Linked DNA regions of Homo sapiens: region 2 is linked to region 1. Evidence: promoter capture Hi-C in human tissues and cell types (Jung and others, 2019). All regions are on one chromosome and are shown on one strand. Each heading gives the region's core, a stretch centred on a gene start or on the middle of the fragment in contact. The rest is flanking DNA. Distances are from core to core; before and after follow the strand shown. Region 1 holds the start of ZDHHC1 (zDHHC palmitoyltransferase 1). Region 2 overlaps CBFB (core-binding factor subunit beta).

The links. Contacts are between HindIII fragments. The study calls those that stand out against the background at their distance.
Region 2: a fragment that was not itself captured here is called in contact with the fragment with the promoter of ZDHHC1 in region 1 in 1 of the 25 tissues and cell types used here (dorsolateral prefrontal cortex).

The regions. Positions count from the first base shown.
Region 1 is chr16:67,414,770-67,418,226 of GRCh38, reverse strand. It overlaps ZDHHC1 (zDHHC palmitoyltransferase 1), which reads left to right and starts at 1,750. Exons shown (of 12, transcript NM_001323627.2): 1 at 1,750-2,056. LOC124903702 (a long non-coding RNA gene) reads right to left here and starts at 2,324. Exons shown (of 2, transcript XR_007065093.1): 1 at 2,084-2,324. RefSeq lists an enhancer at 1,204-1,861 and a silencer at 1,694-2,083. The HindIII fragment of the contact is 12,498 bases long and covers 1-3,457 here.
Region 2 is chr16:67,100,616-67,104,072 of GRCh38, reverse strand. CBFB (core-binding factor subunit beta) reads right to left here. Exons shown (of 6, transcript NM_022845.3): 6 at 3,015-3,457. Among named protein-coding and RNA genes, the nearest start is that of PHAF1, 7.6 kb to the left of the region's middle. The HindIII fragment of the contact is 4,683 bases long and covers 1-3,457 here.

The sequences.
Region 1 (3,457 bases), core at 501-3,000:
CACAGGCCACCAGGCCCAGCTATTTTTTTTCATCTTTTGTAGAGATGGGAGTCTCTCTATGTATCCCAGGCTGGTCTCAAACTCCTGGCTTCAAGTGATTTTCCTGCCTCAGCCTCCTTAAAGTGCTGGGATTACAGGTGTGAGCCACTGCATCCAGCCTCATCCTTCACCTTGATTTCTGGGTCATGATCTCTGTTTGACCCGAAGTTTTCCAATTCCAGATAAGAGTTAAGTAGTCAGCTTGTACTCTGAAGCCAGAATAGCATTGATATTTATCTCACATTGAGTTTGAGTTTATCAGTCTTGAAAACAAGAATTTAAGTAATAGGTTATGTCACTTGCACAAGGACCCACACACCTGTCATGTGACAGAGAAGGAGTAGTTATGTTGCCTAATAAAACATACAATAAGTATGCTTGTGACTTATACATTTTAGAGATAAGGATGTTTTCTTTCCCTATCTGTCATATCTGCCTTGGAGATGCGCACAGGACAGATAGCAGAAGACAAAGTGTCTTCCTGTCTTTTGAGAAAGCCTGAGCTCATAGAAGATTCCATTCTGAGTGTCCACAAGGAGAAGAGGAGAGGGGACTTTTAGGGAAACCAAGTTAGCAGGGAAGTCTCCCAGGTAGAGAAAGGGAAGGGAGGCTGCAGGCCATGGAGCAGAGGAAGCAGGTGTCTGTCCCTGGCAGCCCCAGGGAGAGGCAGGGGCCTCAGGCAGGGATGGCCTCATAGAGCCCAAACCTGAAAATCTTTGTGGACTGGAGCAATGGTTGTGGCCTCAGTACCAGACAAAACCCTGACCAGAGAGTTTTTTGCTTATTTGTTTTTGATTGTTGTTTTTTGCTATAGGAAAACATGAGTCCTTTGGAATTACCTAGCTAAAAGGAGTACAGTGGAGACTGAGACTGAATTTCCCGGCCGGGCAGGGGCTCACGCCTGTAATCCTAGCACTTTTGGAGGCTGAGGTGGGCGGGTCGCTTGAGTTCAGGAGTTCGAAACCAGCCTGGGCAACATGGCAAAACCACGCCTCTACAAAAAAATGCGAAAATTAGTCGGGCGTGGTGGTGTTCGCCTGTAGTCCTAGCTACTCTGGAGGCTGAGGCGGGAGGATCGCCTGAGCCCAGGAGTTCGAGGCTGCAGAGAGCCGTGATCGTGCCACTGCACTCCAGCCTGGGTAACAGAGACCAGTTTAAAAAATAGAAAAAGACTGAATTTCCCATCAGCCTGGAAGATTGGGGCTTGATTTTTGCTTGATTTAAAGGCAATAAATAAATGAGATATTTTGTGCTGCTTATTTTAAGCTCTTACGCTTCTCGCTTTATATTCTGGGGTACCTGCATTTTTAGTGGTGTAATTTATTTGTCTAGATCTGTTTGCCTCTTAACCTGTAAGCTCCCGGAAGGGTCGGGATATCATGGATGTTCCAGCACATACGCTCATTGAAGTGTGCAGGTTGACTGGGGTTGGGGGAGGTCTCTTCTTGAGAGCGGTGGTCTCAGGATAGAAACTGGAAGGGGGCGCTTTTGAGATGTTAGGATTTCGGGGAGACAAGCTGTGACTCGGGAGTAGGGAAAAGCGGATTTTCTAGACGAAAGGTTAGGAAGAATCTGGGAATGGGCCGACTGGGGCACCAAGAGGGTCCCTGGCAAGCCCCGCCCTGGCCGGGGGACCGGCGCGGAGTGACGCAGCGCGGTTTGGCCGCTGTGGGGCGCCGTAGCCCGCGCCGTTGTCAGGGGAACGGGCCCAGCGCCGGACGAGGCCCAGCCAGTCTGGGTCTGGCCTGGCCGCCCCTCCAGCCTGCTGGAGCCGGAGCCGGAGCCGGAGCCGGAGCCGGAGCCGGAGCCAGAGCCAGAGCTCGAGGACTCACCGGCCCAGTCTCCGTCCGGGATGGGGCCCCGCTCCCGGGCGCGTTGCCGCCCAGTCCCGGGGACCGTCCCTACCGCGAGGGTCTGAGGCGCGGCTGCCCCGGGGAGGGTGGAAGGCCAGGCGTGGGGCCCGAACCTCTGGCTGACTTTGGCAGGGCCCATCTGGCACGGCCTCCGCGGCGCGCAGGTGAGGAGTCCCCGCCCGGTTTCTCACCTCGGAGCCTGGCTTGAGCCACGGGGTAGCGGATGCTGCCGCCTGGCCGGCTTTGGGCTCGCTTCCGCCTGGAGCCGGTGGCCTGAGTTCCAGGGCCCCGGCAGAGCGCGGGGCTTCCTTTTAGCATGCATCAAGTTCACAGATCTTCCTTGAGCGCTTACTCTTTGCCAGGCTCTGTGCCAGGCGTGGGCACAGAGGACTCCCAACAGACGTGGTCTGTCTCCAGAACCCAGAGCATTAAGGAAGGGGGCTGGGAAGCGGATGTCATACATGACTAAAGTGATTTCAGGTCGGGTTAGGCTCTCTGGTATTGAAATGGAGGGGTTGGTCATGGAGGGTCTGTTTTAAAAGGAAACCATGGGAAGAGTTTTAGTTTTTTCTTTGAGACGGAGTTTCGCTCTTGTCACCCAGGCTGGATGGAGCGCAGTGGCACGACTCGGGTCATTGCAACCTCCGCCTCCCGGGTTCAAGCCATTCTGCTGCCTCAGCCTCTGGAGTAGCTGGGATTACAGGCGCCCGCCGCCACGCCCGGCTAAGTTTTATATTTTTAGTAGGGACGGGGTTTCACCATGTTGGCCAGGCTGTTCTCGAACTCCTGACCTCAGGTGATCCACCCGCCTCGGCCTCCGAAAGCGTTGGGATTACAGGTGTGAGCCACCGTTCCCAGCCAATTTTTTATTTTTTTGAGACAAGGTCTCCCTTTGTCACCCAGGCTGGAGTGCTGTGGTGTGAACATGGGTCACCGCAGGCTCCGGCTCCCGGGCTCAAGCGATCCTCCCGCCTCAGCCTCCCAAGTAGCTGAGACTACAGATACCCGCCACCACGCTCAGCTAATTTTTTAAGGTTTTGGTAGAGATGAGGTCTTACTATTTTGCCCAGGCTGGTCTCGAGCTCCTGGTCTCAAGGGATCCTCTTGCCTCAGCCTCCCAAAGTGCTGGGATTACAGGTGTGAGCCACTGCAAGCGGCAGAAGAGTTTTTTATTTTTTGTTTATTTTTATTTTTATTTTCCAGATGGAGTCTCGCTCTGTCACCCAGGCTGGACTGCAATGGCACAATCTCGGCTCACTGCAACCTCCACCTCCCGGGTTCAAGCGATTCTCCTGCCTCAGCCCCCCAAGTCTGGGATTACAGGCGCCTGCCACCACACCCAGCTAATTTTTGTATTTTTAGTAGAAACGGGGTTTCAACATGTTGGCCAGGCTGGTCTTGAACTCCTGACCTCAGGTGATCCAGCCACCTTGGCCTCCCAAAGAAGAGTTTGGATGAGTTTCACGTTTGAAAAGCTCACTTCACTCTGGCTGCTGAGCAGCATGGTTGTGACAGACATACCGGGAAGTCAGTTGAGGGCCATCCTAGTTCTGCCAATCTAGCTG
Region 2 (3,457 bases), core at 253-2,752, 310 kb after region 1:
CAGTGGTGCAATCTCGGCTCGCTGCAAGCTCCGCCTGCTGGGTGCATGCCATTCTCTTGCCTCAGCCTCCCAAGTAGCTGGGACTACAGGCGCCCGCCACCACGCCCAGCTAATTTTTTGTATTTTTTAGTAGAGACGGGGTTTCACCATGTTAGCCAGGATGGTCTTGATCTCCTGACCTTGTGATCCACCCGCCTCGGCCTCCCAAAGTGCTGGGATTACAGGCGTGAGCCACCGCACCCACCCTCAAAACATCTCTTTAGGGAAGCTTTTATTCACCACCCAGACTAGAATAGATGTACTATAAGAGCCAGTACTTCTAATGTAACTTAAACAGTGTTACTGCCTTTGGTCAGCTTTTTAGCTAGACTGTAGATTCCTTGTGAGCAGGGAACATGTTTATTTTGGACACTGGATATTTCCCCCCCTAAATGATAACCATACTTTTAGTCTCCAAAAAAAAAATAGAACTTCAACATTTTCCATTTTTATTTTTATAGGTAATATCTTGCTCTGGTGGCCCAGGATGGAGTGCGGTGGCAAGATCATAGCTCACTGCAACCTCAAAATCCTCGGCTCATGCGATCTTCCCACTCCAGCCTCCCAAGTAGCTGGGACTTAGAGGTGTGCACCACCATGCCTGGCTAATTAAGAAAAATATTTTTGTGCAGATGAAGGTCTTGCTATCTTGCCCAGGCTGGTCTTGAGCTCCTGGCCTCAAGCAATCCTCCTGCCTCAGCCCCCCAAAGTGCTGGGATTACAGATATGAGCTACTGTGCCTGGCCTTTTATTTTTATCTACAACATCTCCTCAACATTTCTGAAATCTGAATGAGGCCAATAACGACCTTAATTCTAAGTTGCTTAAATTTTCTAACCAAAAGCTGGGAGTTGACTAAAACAGTGACTTATCTGTTTCAGAATATTCCATATTTAAACAAACTAAACTGCCATTTCCATCCATGATTTCACCCTGTGACTGTCATTTTTTAGCTTTGGAACATTTCTGAAATGCCATATATGAATATATGATGGTGATGCAAGAAAAGGGGTTGATGCTATCTAGGGGGAATCATGTATTCAAATCTGCAAGACTGAAATCTTACCTTTAAAGAATGTTTAGATTAAAACACCAAAGGTATCTTTTTTTTTTGAGATGGAGTCTCGCCCTGTTGCCCAGGCTGGAGTGCAGTGGTGCGATCTTGGCTCACTGCAAGCTCCACCTCCTGGGTTCGCACCATTCTCCTGCCTCAGCCTCCCGAGTAGCTGGGACTACAGGCGCCCGCCACCACACCCGTCTAATTTTTTGTATTTTTAGTAGAGACGGGGTTTCACCGTTAACCAGGATGGTCTCGATCTCCTGACCTCATGATCTGCCTGCCTCGGCCTCCCAAAGTGCTGGGATTACAGGTGTGAGCCACCGCGCCCGGCAAAACACCAAAGGTATCTTATACTCAGTTACGTATATTTGGTAATATCACCATGGTGGTTTAGAAAGATGTCCACAAATGCTTTGACATCCCCGCCTTCAACAGATGAAGCTTAATATTCCTCCCCCTTTGAGTGTGGACCAGACCCAGTGACTTGATTCTAACATACAATATGGCAGCCCAAGATTCAGTTCTAAGACTGTGCTTTTGGCTGGGCATGGTGGCTCACACCTGTAATCTCAGCACTTTGGGATGCCGAGGCGGACGAATCACTTGAGGTCAGGAATTTGAGACCAGCCTGGCCAACATGGTGAAACCCCGTCTCTATGAAAAATACAAAAATTAGCCGGGCATGTTGATGGGCACCTGTAATCCCAGCTACGTGGGAGGCTGAGGCAGGAGAATCGCTTGAACCCGGGAGGGGGAGGTTGCAGTGAGCTGAGATTGCAGCACTGCAGTCCAGTCAGTCTAGGCAACAGAGCGAGACTCCATCTCAAAAAAAAAAAAAAAAAAAAAAAAAAAAAGACTGTGCTTTCAACTTGGGTGTGCGCTCTCTTGGATCACTTGCCTTGGGGGAAGCCAGCTACCCTGCTGTGCACTGTCCTATGGAAAGACCCAGCTGGGCATGAAATGGAAGCAGGTCTCTGTCCAACATCTAGCAAGGAACATCTGCCTTTCATCTAGCAAGCTGCAAAGAACCGAGGCCAGTCAGTGACCACATTAGTGGGTTTGAAAGGGGATCTTTCATCCAGTCAATCCTTGAGATGACTGTAGCCCAGGATGACTCTAACCTTATGAGGAACTCTGAACCAGAACCATTGATCTTAGCTACTTCCAGATTTGTGACTCACCTGTGGGATAATACGTATTTATTGTTTTAAGCTGCTAAGTTTTGGGGTAATGTGTTATGGATAATACAATGGTTTATAGATTGAAAAGCTCCTCATTGCCAAATGAGGCATAAATCAAGTAAGATATTTTTCACCAAGCAGCCCCGAGCTAGCATATCCAATTATGTTTCTAGAAGTGATATACTTACTAAAACCATGCTGTTACTGCTCAATTTTTTGAAATTAACTCTCAGAGCATGAATCCTACTCTTTGGAATTTCCCTTAATGGTGTCAATTCAGAATTTAAAGGCATTTTTGTCATTTGCAGTAAGTCTTGTGGTTAATGAGTGAATCTGTTTATCATGTGTCAAGCTTAAGGCATACTTTCAAGGAAAAGGGCTTACTTTTCTGTTGTAGGAAAATGCCAGGAGTCTTAAGAATGTTTGATATAACACCAGCACAATCAAAACGGCTGTATATTTCCAAAACAACTAGCTTGAAAGATGGAACTAATTTGGATGTGTAATTTAAAATTCTTTCTCCCAACATCACTACTTTATGGTCATATCTCACAGGATGGGTAAATCAAGCCAGATTTCTTGAAAACCATAATATACACTGGGGGATTTGTATACCTTGTGATACCTATATTTAAAGTAGTCTTCTTTGGAATCAACAGAAATTACCACTAGATGCCACTGTTGTTGCTTTCTTAGAAATTACTGGGTTAGGTCAAGAAAGAGCCAAGACCCTGTTTTTACTACACAGAAGTTTATTGTGAAAGTAAATTAAACAAACAAACACACAGTATGGCCAATGGTGGCAAAAGCAATCTGGTAGCTTAAGGCAAGTTTTAATGGAGATGAATTTAGAAAAGATGATGCAATGATGTAATTTTGTTTAAATATAGATTATGAAAAAATATCAAATTGCATCAATAACTTAATAGAAGTAGTTTTCAAAGCCTGTACTACTGGAGAAAAAGGGCTCATGATCTTAATGCCAGCATTAAGACAGACAGAAGCAGCATGGTGCTAAATGACAGAAAAATCCAGTATTTACATTAGGATGGTAACAGGAACATTTAAGAGCATTTGATCTTATTTACTGGTGGACCGAAAGCCCTTAGCTAGACAATAGAGGAAAATGTACCATCATCATGTTATTTAAAAAAATTTAAGTGCAGAAGTAAAAAAC